Linked DNA regions of Homo sapiens: regions 2 and 3 are each linked to region 1. The links are contacts of gene promoters, found by promoter capture Hi-C in blood cells and fetal thymus (Javierre and others, 2016). All regions are on one chromosome and are shown on one strand. Each heading gives the region's core, a stretch centred on a gene start or on the middle of the fragment in contact. The rest is flanking DNA. Distances are from core to core; before and after follow the strand shown. Region 1 holds the start of LINC01956 (long intergenic non-protein coding RNA 1956). Region 2 has its middle 270 kb from the start of LINC01956. Region 3 has its middle 150 kb from the start of THORLNC.

What was found. Contacts are between HindIII fragments. The CHiCAGO score rates a contact against its expected background, and 5 or more counts as called.
Region 2: a contact is called between a fragment that was not itself captured here and the fragment with the promoter of LINC01956 in region 1, in 1 of 17 cell types (endothelial precursors). The highest score is 5.2, in endothelial precursors.
Region 3: a fragment that was not itself captured here is called in contact with the fragment with the promoter of LINC01956 in region 1 in 1 of 17 cell types (endothelial precursors); the score reaches 5.1 in endothelial precursors.

What each region holds. Positions count from the first base shown.
Region 1 is chr2:118,834,192-118,837,604 of GRCh38, reverse strand. It overlaps LINC01956 (long intergenic non-protein coding RNA 1956), which reads left to right and starts at 1,459. Exons shown (of 3, transcript NR_199712.1): 1 at 1,459-3,117; 2 at 3,202-3,258. The HindIII fragment of the contact is 14,254 bases long and covers 1-3,413 here.
Region 2 is chr2:118,564,235-118,567,822 of GRCh38, reverse strand. No RefSeq gene overlaps it. Among named protein-coding and RNA genes, the nearest start is that of LINC01956, 270 kb to the left of the region's middle. The HindIII fragment of the contact is 1,829 bases long and covers 346-2,174 here.
Region 3 is chr2:118,333,855-118,337,438 of GRCh38, reverse strand. No RefSeq gene overlaps it. Among named protein-coding and RNA genes, the nearest start is that of THORLNC, 150 kb to the right of the region's middle. The HindIII fragment of the contact is 1,202 bases long and covers 893-2,094 here.

The sequences.
Region 1 (3,413 bases), core at 210-2,709:
CCCACAGGTATGGGGGTGGGGTGTTTTGAGGACATTTGGGAAGATTTCAGGCTATAGTAATGGAAGACTCTAGGTATGTGTGACCCAATAGAAAAGCAGAAATGTATTGTGTGTGTGCATGCACACACATCCTGAAGAGAGTATTCTTATCAACAGCCTGTGACTCTGCCTTTGGCAGGCAGGTGGGTGGGAGTGCCAGGAGGGGGCAGGGGATTGTAGAGGAGACTAGTGAGTACTCGCCTCCCCCTCCTCAACTCTGATGAGGAGTGGGGTATAAAGCCGGGCACAACTTAGATTCCTCTCTGCCCCCTGCCACCACACAAGCGCACGGAGAAAGCTCCATCTGGGGTGCTCGCATCCTCCCCTCCTCCTGAAGACCTGGTCTGCAGGCCTCCAGGACCAGCGCAGAGGGGCGGGAGCCTCCTGTGAGAGAGATGAGAGTCCAAAGACAGAAGGGACCCAGGAGAATTTCTGATTCAACCACGACTACTGCAAGAGTGGGCTTGGGCCCTGACAGCAGCAATCGGGCCCTGACAGCAACCATTTCCTGCAGCGAGACCCACGGCTCTGCCATCTGATAAATAGAACACAGTGGAAAACTGGACGGAGAGAGCTGGGGAGAAGCCGCCTCCACACTCCCAATTTCAATACTGAATCCTGAAGAAAACAAAAGCGAGTCCCAGTAACGACCACAGCAGGGCTCTCCTTGCCCTTCCCCCGCCCCTTCACCTCCAGGTACAGGACTTGTCCATTTAGCAGAGTGCAGGCAATTCAGAAGATGTCACTCCCAGAAATTCAAAATTAACATGATCATTAATCACTGAGGGTCTTCCGTGCACATTGCTAGCCATTTAACACAATTTATTTCCTTCAACAACATACATTTCTGTGTGTTGCCTATTATAATCCCCACCTTACAGATAAGAAAAGTGAGGTCCAGGGTCATCCTGCTAAGGTCTCACCAAATCACGTTGAAGTCTATACTGTAGTTACTTATAAATAGAAGAATGATTCGCAGTCGCATAGCGCAGTGTCAAGTCTCCACATTGGTCCTGGACTTTGGCACCTGGGGGAGCAGGGGGAGCACTGATTTGCGTGAAGGGCTGTTATCCCTCCTCTCCTCTCCTTCAGTCTTAACTAGGAGTAGCCTCAGCACCTCTCCAGCCCTCTTCCCTCTTACTCTGTAACTCAGGTCCGAGTTCCTGCTCACACACCCCTACTCTACACCTCCGACCCGGGTCTCAGATTAGCGTCCCAAGAGATTCCGATCTTTTCCCAGATTAAGATGCCCCTATCCCCGCACAATCAGCAGTTTCCCCCCTCACACTTTCCTCCCGCACCTGCGTCCAGACTGGGTCCGCCGAAACGGCCCGCCCCATCCGGGCGTCTTGGCCTTGCTCCAACCCGGCTGGAGCTGCCCGCGCCCGGCACGGTCCGCGGAGGGCGCTTCTTACAGGCACTTCCGGTCAGCGCAGCCCAGGCCGCAGGAGGGTACGGCCCTGGACCCCCTCTCTCCAGTGGGGGCTGGAGATGGGAGCGCAACTGGGGCTCCGCCGAGGTCTCTGAGGGCACTTCACCCCCGCCCCCGACCCCAGGAACTGCGAAACCCCAAATCTTCTTGCCCACCGCGGGGCGCAGGTCCTGCCCACCCGCTCTCCAGGGACGCGCGCAGAAAGGCAGTCCCGGCCGCCTCCCCGCGCCAGGGTCCGGGCAAGCGTCTGAAAGCTGTGCTTGGGCCGCAGCTCCAGCCATCGCCCCTCACCCCCGGTTCTCCCGGGCCACGTTCATTGCACAGTTTCGATTTGTTTAGGCCGGGGTCTCCTCTTCTTTCCTCAACATCTTTTTCTGTGGGCTCCCCGCCTCCGTATTCCTCCTCATCCTCTGCTCCAAGGTTTCCGTTTTTTGCACCGGAGGCCGCCCTTCTGCGACCAGCCTTCTCCGGCCGCTCGGACTCGGCCTCTGCAGCGGGGTGCACCCGGGCGTCCCTTCGGCTCCCGGCCCTCCCTCTCTCCTCGTCGCCCAGCCCTGCCTCCAACTTTGCGCCCCCGGCTGCCCCGCGCCGCGGCTCAACTGGACATCCGAACGCTCCGACTGTCCGCTCCCCTCCCCTCCCCCGGCCGACACGTGGGGACCAGCGCTGACCTTGGGTGAGGCCACGCTGTCCCCCGCTGCTCTCCAGTCACCCCTGTATCCCTTTGACTCTTGGGCTTCCGAGTAGGGGCTCCCGGAGTATTACCAGGGAAAAGGGGAGCGCCCTTCCCCTGGTAATGAGAGTAGCCACGCAATGTCGGCTGCGCAAACTGGGCCTCAGAGCGGCCAGGCCAGGGTCAAACCAGGAAGAGGGGGAGGGGTGGACAGCAAGGCTGAAGAGACCTGACTTTATTTGTGTTGCTTCAACTGGTCCTGAATGGTTACACGAGGCGCGCGCTCTTGCACACACACCGCGGGCAGCCCAAACCCTCGCTGGCTCGGCCCGCCGGCTCCTCGCCCTGCCAGTCCTGAGCCGGCTCTGAGCCACTGGAGTCAGAGGGCCCGGGCGCCTGCCTTCTCGGTGCGGGCTGGGGAGGACCTGCTCGCGAAGGGCTGCCAACTGAACTTTTCCTGCACCAGGTGAGCCCCTTCTGAAATCCTCGCTGCGGGATACTTTTTTTTTTTTTGAGGGGGCGAGAGGAAGTTGCAGAGCAGCTCCGGCCCCACCACCTCTTTCCGCAATAAAGCCACCATCCTCAGGGCGCAGAGATTTGTTCTCCTCCTCTCCTTTCTTGGAGCTGTGTGGCCAGTTCTCTTACCCAGGCAAAGCTGAGGTTTCCTGCTCGGGTTCACTGTTTACTTAGGATTTCTCTAAAACTAGCGGCGCCAACTTGCCCTCCCTCTGCGCCTTCCCTGGCGGCCCCCACCCAGGCCTGGAGGAACTTCCAGAAGGGTGAGGCCGGGCAGGCGGGGGCGAGGAGGCCGCGGCCTGGCAGGGACTGTTCTTCCATCCTTTGCTGGATTTCCCGCGCCTTCTATCCCTGCAGATTGAGCTCTGGCCTTCACCCCGGGCCTCTTAACTTCAGGTCCGCCCAAGTGCCCTCCTCTCAGCAGGCGGAGGCTCACAGCTCTGTCGGGAGTAGGGAGGTAGGTACCCCAGGGAGGACGGCTGAACCTAGTTCCACGCTTATCTGGCCTCGAGTTTCATATCCATTCTTCATGTCCTCACAGGGCTGACCGCATTGTGGTGCAAAGTGACAAGTCGAGTGTTGACTTGGGGACTGCGATGTAAGTGAGGGACCCTGGGTGTTGGTGGAGGGGAGAATGGAGGGATTATTGCCCACTCCCCCCTCCGCCGTGCCAAATTCAGCCAGAAGTTAACAAAGTTTGCTTTTCGGGATTGAACCCGTCTTGGGTTCTCCGACCGCCCAGGGCTTGGGGTT
Region 2 (3,588 bases), core at 11-2,510, 270 kb after region 1:
GGGATCAGCTACCCAAATAGGGGTATTGAGAAATGAATTTGGATAGGTTCAGAGTTTAAGCTACATATATCTTCTAATATCTGATGAAGAGTGGAGCTGTTTATTTCCCTATAAGCAACAGAGAGTTAGTGGAGGTTTCTGAGTATATAATTGGAAAGCTTACTTTTGTTTTTTGTTTGTTTGCTTATTTTTGTTTTTTTGAGACAGAGTATCTCTCTGTCACCCAGGCTGGAGTACAGTAGTGCAATCTCGGCTCACTGCAACCTCTGCCTCCTGGGTTCAAGTGATTCTCCTGCCTCGACCTCCCGAGTAGCTGGGATTACAGTCATGTGCCACCAGAAAGCTTACTTTTGTGACAGTGTAGAGGCTATTTGGGAAAGACAGGGAGAAGAGGCAGAGGACAAGCTATGGGGCTATTGTGGTAATCCAGTTTTTGAGGATCCTGACCTCGTAGATTGTTTGACTTCTGTACATTTTTTGGCTTTGCTGTTGGGAGTGGATGACTATCTTAATGTCCATTAACACAACTGCCTGAAGTTTTAGGCACCCTATGTCAGTTGCTTTAAGTCATTCTTTAGAATCCAGCAAGGCTCCAAGGGCTGAATAATACCAAGCATCTGGGTACCAACTAGGATGTGAACAAAGCAAGAGGTACCGCTTGCTTTTCTCCAGTGGCTCATCCAGAAGCCTCATCATTTCCAGACCAGTGCCTCCACTTCAAAGGCTTGCTCCTCTTAGGGATATAGAATCCCTCTCTGCTGTGGAGAGAGGAATGGAGAATATACGAGAAGCATAGAGGGCTGGGAGGCAGGGCCAGATTCCAGGCTTTGTGACATCAATTCTCTTTGGCTTTGGACACACCACCTGACCTCTTTGGTCAGTTTGACCATTTCCCAAACATAGAGAATATAATTTTTGTTCATCTAAATCTGGGCAGGATTATATAGTGCATAGAATCTAGGGTATCCGTTTTCAGACTGGGTCCTAAAAGCTCCAGGTTTCTTTGGAGATGCTTCAGGCACTCCCCATGGGTAAGAAGTGTCTGAGCAGATCCCTTTTAATCCATTGTATTGATACATATTGGGCTTCTGCGGCAAATACATGACGAGTGAATGAATGAATGAAGATTTAAACCACTGGCGTTGTGTAAAGAGATTCAACTGAGAGCCAGAACATATAAGAGAGTCCTGGATCTGTCCAAGCAAGCTATGAGATTTCTAGCAAGCCATTTATCCTCACCTTGAGCCCCTCCTTCTTCCTCTGTCACATGCTTGGCTTTGAATAGATGATCTGTGTCCCTTCTAGTGATGAGGTGATATTTCTTCATTACATGGGAATTATAGGAACACGGATAAAATGTATTGTGGCAATGATTTAACTAATATTTAAAAAGCAAGTCCCAGTATCACATCAGCTATGCAGACTACGACCAGGCACAGGGAACCAGGCCTCCAAGCCATTGCCACAGGCATGAACCCAAGTTCTTGCTCAGACCTTACTAATTCTTAGTTTGTGTACAATTCCAACATGCTCGGCTAATTGATGTTATAGCCTGCAGCAGAAAACCCTGTAGCAGGCAAGAAACAGCTAGGGCAGGTACTTATGCAGCTGCACAAGTGATAGTCTGACACCAAGCTAGTAGAAATGCAAAAGGTGAAAAGTATTAAGAAGCTGGCATAAGAATTTAAAAGTACTTGAAGAAAGGGATCATTGACTATAGAAGCAAATATTTTTATACAATCTAGTTACATCCATCTTCCTCTCTGGCAGGAGTTTAGCTCATGTGAAATCCAGAGGAATCCAAGACAGTTAAAAAATTGGCTCCCAAGTTAGAATAGATGAGTTAGCCAAGAAACAAAGCAGGGGATACACCAAATATTTGTTTCAAAAAGCCAAGCTATCAAATCTGAAGTCTGAGAGAAAAATGGACTTAAGAAAAACAAAAAGTAAAAAGCACACGTGGAGCCAAGGGACCCAGTGTTGAGAGGATTGTTCAAGTGGTTCAATTAGATGCACTCATTCATATTCCGGTGATGACCCTGGGCCATTATGATCAAAATAAATGACACGTGTAGGCTCTACTGAAGGAAGGAAGCTGGGAGTGCATATTCTTTCTATCTGGGAAGGTTTCTAACAAAAAGAGTGAATCTGCGGAGGGGAGGGGTTGTCAAGCTTTGGTTCTTAAAGGGTTAACCCTTAGTTATCTGGAAAGTCTTCTTGAAATCCCACAAAACATGCGGCCTTCCCCTGGGCTTTCTCCTCCCACTAGCGGTACACCAGATTCTGGCCCCAGGGGTCTCTGGGGTGTGTTCCATGCCTGGAATGGCCAGGCGTCTGAGCGAGGCTGTGATGCTGTCAGGGGTTCTGTCTGTCTCTATTTGGTGCTGCCTTGGGAAGATACACAGAGAAGGCAGTACTGAAACCCCAGCCGCCTCATGCCAGAGAGTGCCTGTCCTTGCTTTTCTTCCCCATCATTCTGCTGCAGAGGCCAATAATTGGCAACAAAGCTTATGGATTTGATTATGAGGAGGGTTGCAGGATGGTGAGAGTGGGCAGGAGCCTGGGCCTGAAATCCTTTGCGAAAAGCCAAGAAAACACCGGTTTGGATTCCTGTTACCTGTGGTAACACTTTCCTTCAACAAGTGCCTGTAAAAGCGGAGAGGCATTCTCGACACGTGTCCAGGAGGAAGTCTGGACACCACGTCACAGATGCAGCGCTGGGAGGAAGCAATGGGAAGACTCTTCAGGGAAAAAAAATCAGCTGATGTTGCCACGTTAGTACTCAAGGAACCTGTAAACGTCAAAAGGTGAGAAACTCTCAGTCCGATGTCTGCTTGGAGGTGTGGCCTCATGGTGAGGATTCATCCCACGTCCTTCCAGACTCTTGGGAACTGCAGGATGGCTGCCCAGGGATGGGGAGGGAACCAAGGACTACACTAAGCCCTTCAGCTACGTTTGTTCCCTAAGTCCTGGCAACAGCTTGTGAACCAAAAGTATCTGAGACAGGTCTCAATCACTTTAGAAAGTTTATTTTGCCAAAGTTAAGAATACACCTGTGACACAGCCTCAGGAAGTCCTGACAACATGTGCCTAAGGTGACTGGGGGACAGCTTGATTTTATACATTTTAGAGATACATGAGACATCAATCAATATGTGTAAGATGTACATTGGTTTGGTCTGGAAAGGCAAGACAACTTGAAGTGGAGGGTTTCCACGTCACAGGTAGATAAGAGGCAAATGGTTGCATTCTTTTGAATCTTTGGTCAGCCTTTCCCTGAACACACAATTTTAATGTGAGAATGGAGTAGAGGAATAGTTACTTATGCCTTAGTCTGGCTCAGTGAATTTGCATTTTTACATAAACAATAGGGCATAGGAAACAATCACATATGCATTTGTCTCAGGTGAGCCGAGAGATGACTTTGAGTTCTGTCCTTTGTCCTGCACCTGTGAAGATAAGCCATCAATTGACACAGCTAGGGTGAAATCTAACAGAACTGTTTTAGGGTAAAGTTCTTAAGGCCCACAAGAAATTTCCTTGTGGACAATTTGTAAGGCAGGTATGCAGCTTTTTTTTTTTTAATCT
Region 3 (3,584 bases), core at 244-2,743, 500 kb after region 1:
ACTAGAAGTGATAAATAAATTCAGTAAAGTTGTAGTATACAAAATCAACATGAAAAATCAATAGCATCTCTTCACTAACAGCAGACTTTTCAAAATAGAAATCTAGAGGGCAATCCCATTTACAATAGCTACAAAAAAAAATAATAATGAATAAATTTAAACAAGGAGGCAAAAGACCTGCACACTCTAAATTATGAAACATTCATGAAAGAAATTAAAGAAGACACAAATAAATGGAAAAATATCTGGTGTTCATGAATTGGAAGAATTAATATTGCTAGAGTCCATACTACCCAAAATGATCCTCAGATTCGGTGCAATTCCTATTAAAATCCTAATGTTATTTTTTTAGGTATAGAAAAAATAATCCTAAAATTCATGTGGAACTACAAAAATCCCCAAATCATCAAGGCAATCCTGAGCAAAAAGAACGAAGCTGAGGGCATCACACTACATGATTTCAAGCTATACCACAAAGCAATGGTAGTTAAAGCAGCATGGTGCTGGCATAAAAATAGACACATCAACTAGTGCCATGGAATAGGAAGCACAGGAATGAACCCATGCATCCATGGGTTCAATTGATTTTCCACAAAGGTACCAAAAATATACAATGGGAAAAGGACAGTCTCTTCAATAAATGGAGTTGGGAAAACTGAATATTCATATGCCAAAAAATGAAATCGACCTTTGTTTCATACCATATACAAAAATGAATTCAAAATAAAGGCTTAAACATAAAACGTGAAACTGTATTTCTACTATAAGAAAACATGTATGAGAAAACCATATAACATAGGTCTGAACAATTACTTTTTTTTAGGTTTGACCCCTAAAGTACAGGCAACAAAAGCAAAACTAGAAAAATGGTATTACATCAACATAAAAAGCTTCTGCACAACAAAGAAAACAATTAATAGAGTGAAGAGACAACCTACGGATTGGGAGAAAATATCTGCAAGCCTTACATCTGATAAGCGATTAATATCCAAAATACATAAAAAACTCAAACAACTCTATAGAAGGAAAACAAATAATCTGATTAAAAGCAAAAGACTTGAGCAGACATTTCTCAAAAGAAGACATACAAATGACTAACAGACACATTAAAAAATGCTCAGCATCACTAATCATTAGAGAAATGCAAATAAAAACCACAGTGAGATGCCACCTCATACCTGTTACAGTGGCTATTATCAAAAAAAAAAAAAGGTAAGAATTTTTGAGGATGCAAAGAAAAGGGAAAACTTATAACTGTTGGTGGGAAAGTAAATTAGTGTAGCCATTATGGGAAACTGCATGGAAGTTCCTCAAAAACCTAAAAATAGAACTGCCATATGATCGAGCAATCCAAATTCTGGGTACTCAGGTTGAAAATATTTGAAAAAGTATTTAAAATTGATATGTTAAAGAGACATCTAGGCCAAGCACGATGGCTCACGCCTGTAATCCCCGCACTTTGGGAGGCTGAGCTGAGTGGATCACCTGAGGTCAAAAGTTTGAGACCAGCCTGGCCGACATGGTGAAACCTCATCTCTACTAAAAATACAAAAATTAGCTGGGCATGGTGGCAGGTGCCTGTAATCCCAGCTACTCAGGAGGCTGAGGCAAGGAGAATCACTTGAACCTGGGAGGTGGAGGTTGCAGTGAGCTGAGATCACGCCATTGAATTCCAGCCTGGGTGACAAGAGCGAAACTCCATCTCAAAAAAATAAAAATAAAGAAAAAAAAAACAGAGAGAGAGACATCTGCACACCCATGTTCATGCAGCACTGTTCATGATAGCCAATTTATGGAATCAACTTATGTGTCCATCAATGGATGAATTGATAAAGAAAATGTGGTATGTATACACAATGGAATACTATTCACTCTTTAAAAAGGAAGAAATTGTGACATTTGCAACAACGTGAATGGGATTGAAGAACATTATGCAAAGTAAAATAAGCCAAAAACAGAAAGATAAATGTCACATGTTCTTGCTTGTATATGGAATCTAAAACAACTGAACTTATAGAAGCAGAGAAAAGAATGGTAGCTACAGAGGCTGGGAGATAGGGTAGTGGGGAGATGATAATCAGAGGGCACAAAGCTTCAGTTAGGAGGAATCAGTTTGAAATTTTTTTGAGATCTATTGCACAGCATTTTGAATATAGCTAATAATTGAGTACTGTACATTTCAATATTGCTAAGAGAATACATCTCAAATGTTCTTATCACAAAAAGTCAAATACTTGAGGTAATGAATAGATTAATTAGCTTAATTTAATAATTTCATGTCATATAAAAAAATCATAACATCGCTTTGTATCCCATAGATATACACAACTATAATCTGTCAATATAAAATATTTTAAAAGATACAACAATGCTTATCTCTCTCCTCACCACTCTTACCCTCTATCTTGCTCCAAAGATAAGCATTTTTCTTAGAGGGGGCTACATCCCAGTTTATCTTTTCAATGTTTCTTATTTAATAGCTGGTGTACTACTATTCTGCACATTGCTTTACTCACTTAAGAATATACCATGGAAATCAATTCATATTAATTCACAGAGATCTTGAGATATTATCTTTCAGAATCTTTCATATAATAACATTACTTTTATTAAAAAGAATGCTAGTATAAATGTACATAAGAAAATTGGCATTTTTTAGCTATATCTTGAAGGTACATGAGGTTTGCATTGGAGCCCTTTTTTATAAGCCACAGATGAGAACCTTCCCTCTGGCCCAGCTACTCTATTCATTATAGGCCAAGTATATTACATCTCCTCTACCCATGCTCACAATCTTCCACCTACTTGAGACATGGTTCCATTCTTCATTTGAGGCAAGACATTTGAAGTAGTCATTTCAAATGCTACCTCCTCATAAAGATTCCTTGCTCCAAGAGAACTGTGTCTTTGCATCCCCAGTGCCTATCATGACAGCCAGCACATAAAAAATGTTTGATAAATGTTCAGAATGGCATAGAAAGAAGGTAGCATAGAAAGAAGATGGGTTTAGGGTCACATAAGTTTTAAGTTCAAATTCTAGCTTACCCAAATTCTAACTGCATTAGTTATCCTTTACTGTGTAATAAAATACCTCAAAACATAGCATTTTAAAATAGCACACATTTATTATCTCAGTTTCTTATAGGTCTCAGGAAACTGGCATGGCTTAGCTGGATGCTTCTGTCCCAGGGTCTCTTACAGGCTTCCATCAAAATGTTGACTGGGGCTGTGATCTCAGCTGAAGACTCACCTGGGAAACCCACTTGCAAGTTTATTTCTGTGGTTGTTGGATAGATTCAGTTCATTGCAGGGTGTTGGACAGAGGCCTCCGTCTCTCATGAGCTGTTAGCTGGTGATCTCCTTTGGTTACTTGCCACATAGGCTACTCCATAGGGCATCTCACAACATAGCAGCTGGCTTCATCAGAGTGAGAAAATCAGAAGGCAAGAGGAAGTACCAGAAAGAGACAGAATGAGGAGAGAAATCAATCTTTTATAATCTAATTGTGAAAGTGATATCCCTTTGCTTGTACCATATTATATTCCTTGGAAGCAAGCCACTAGTCCAGCCCATACTGGAGCAGA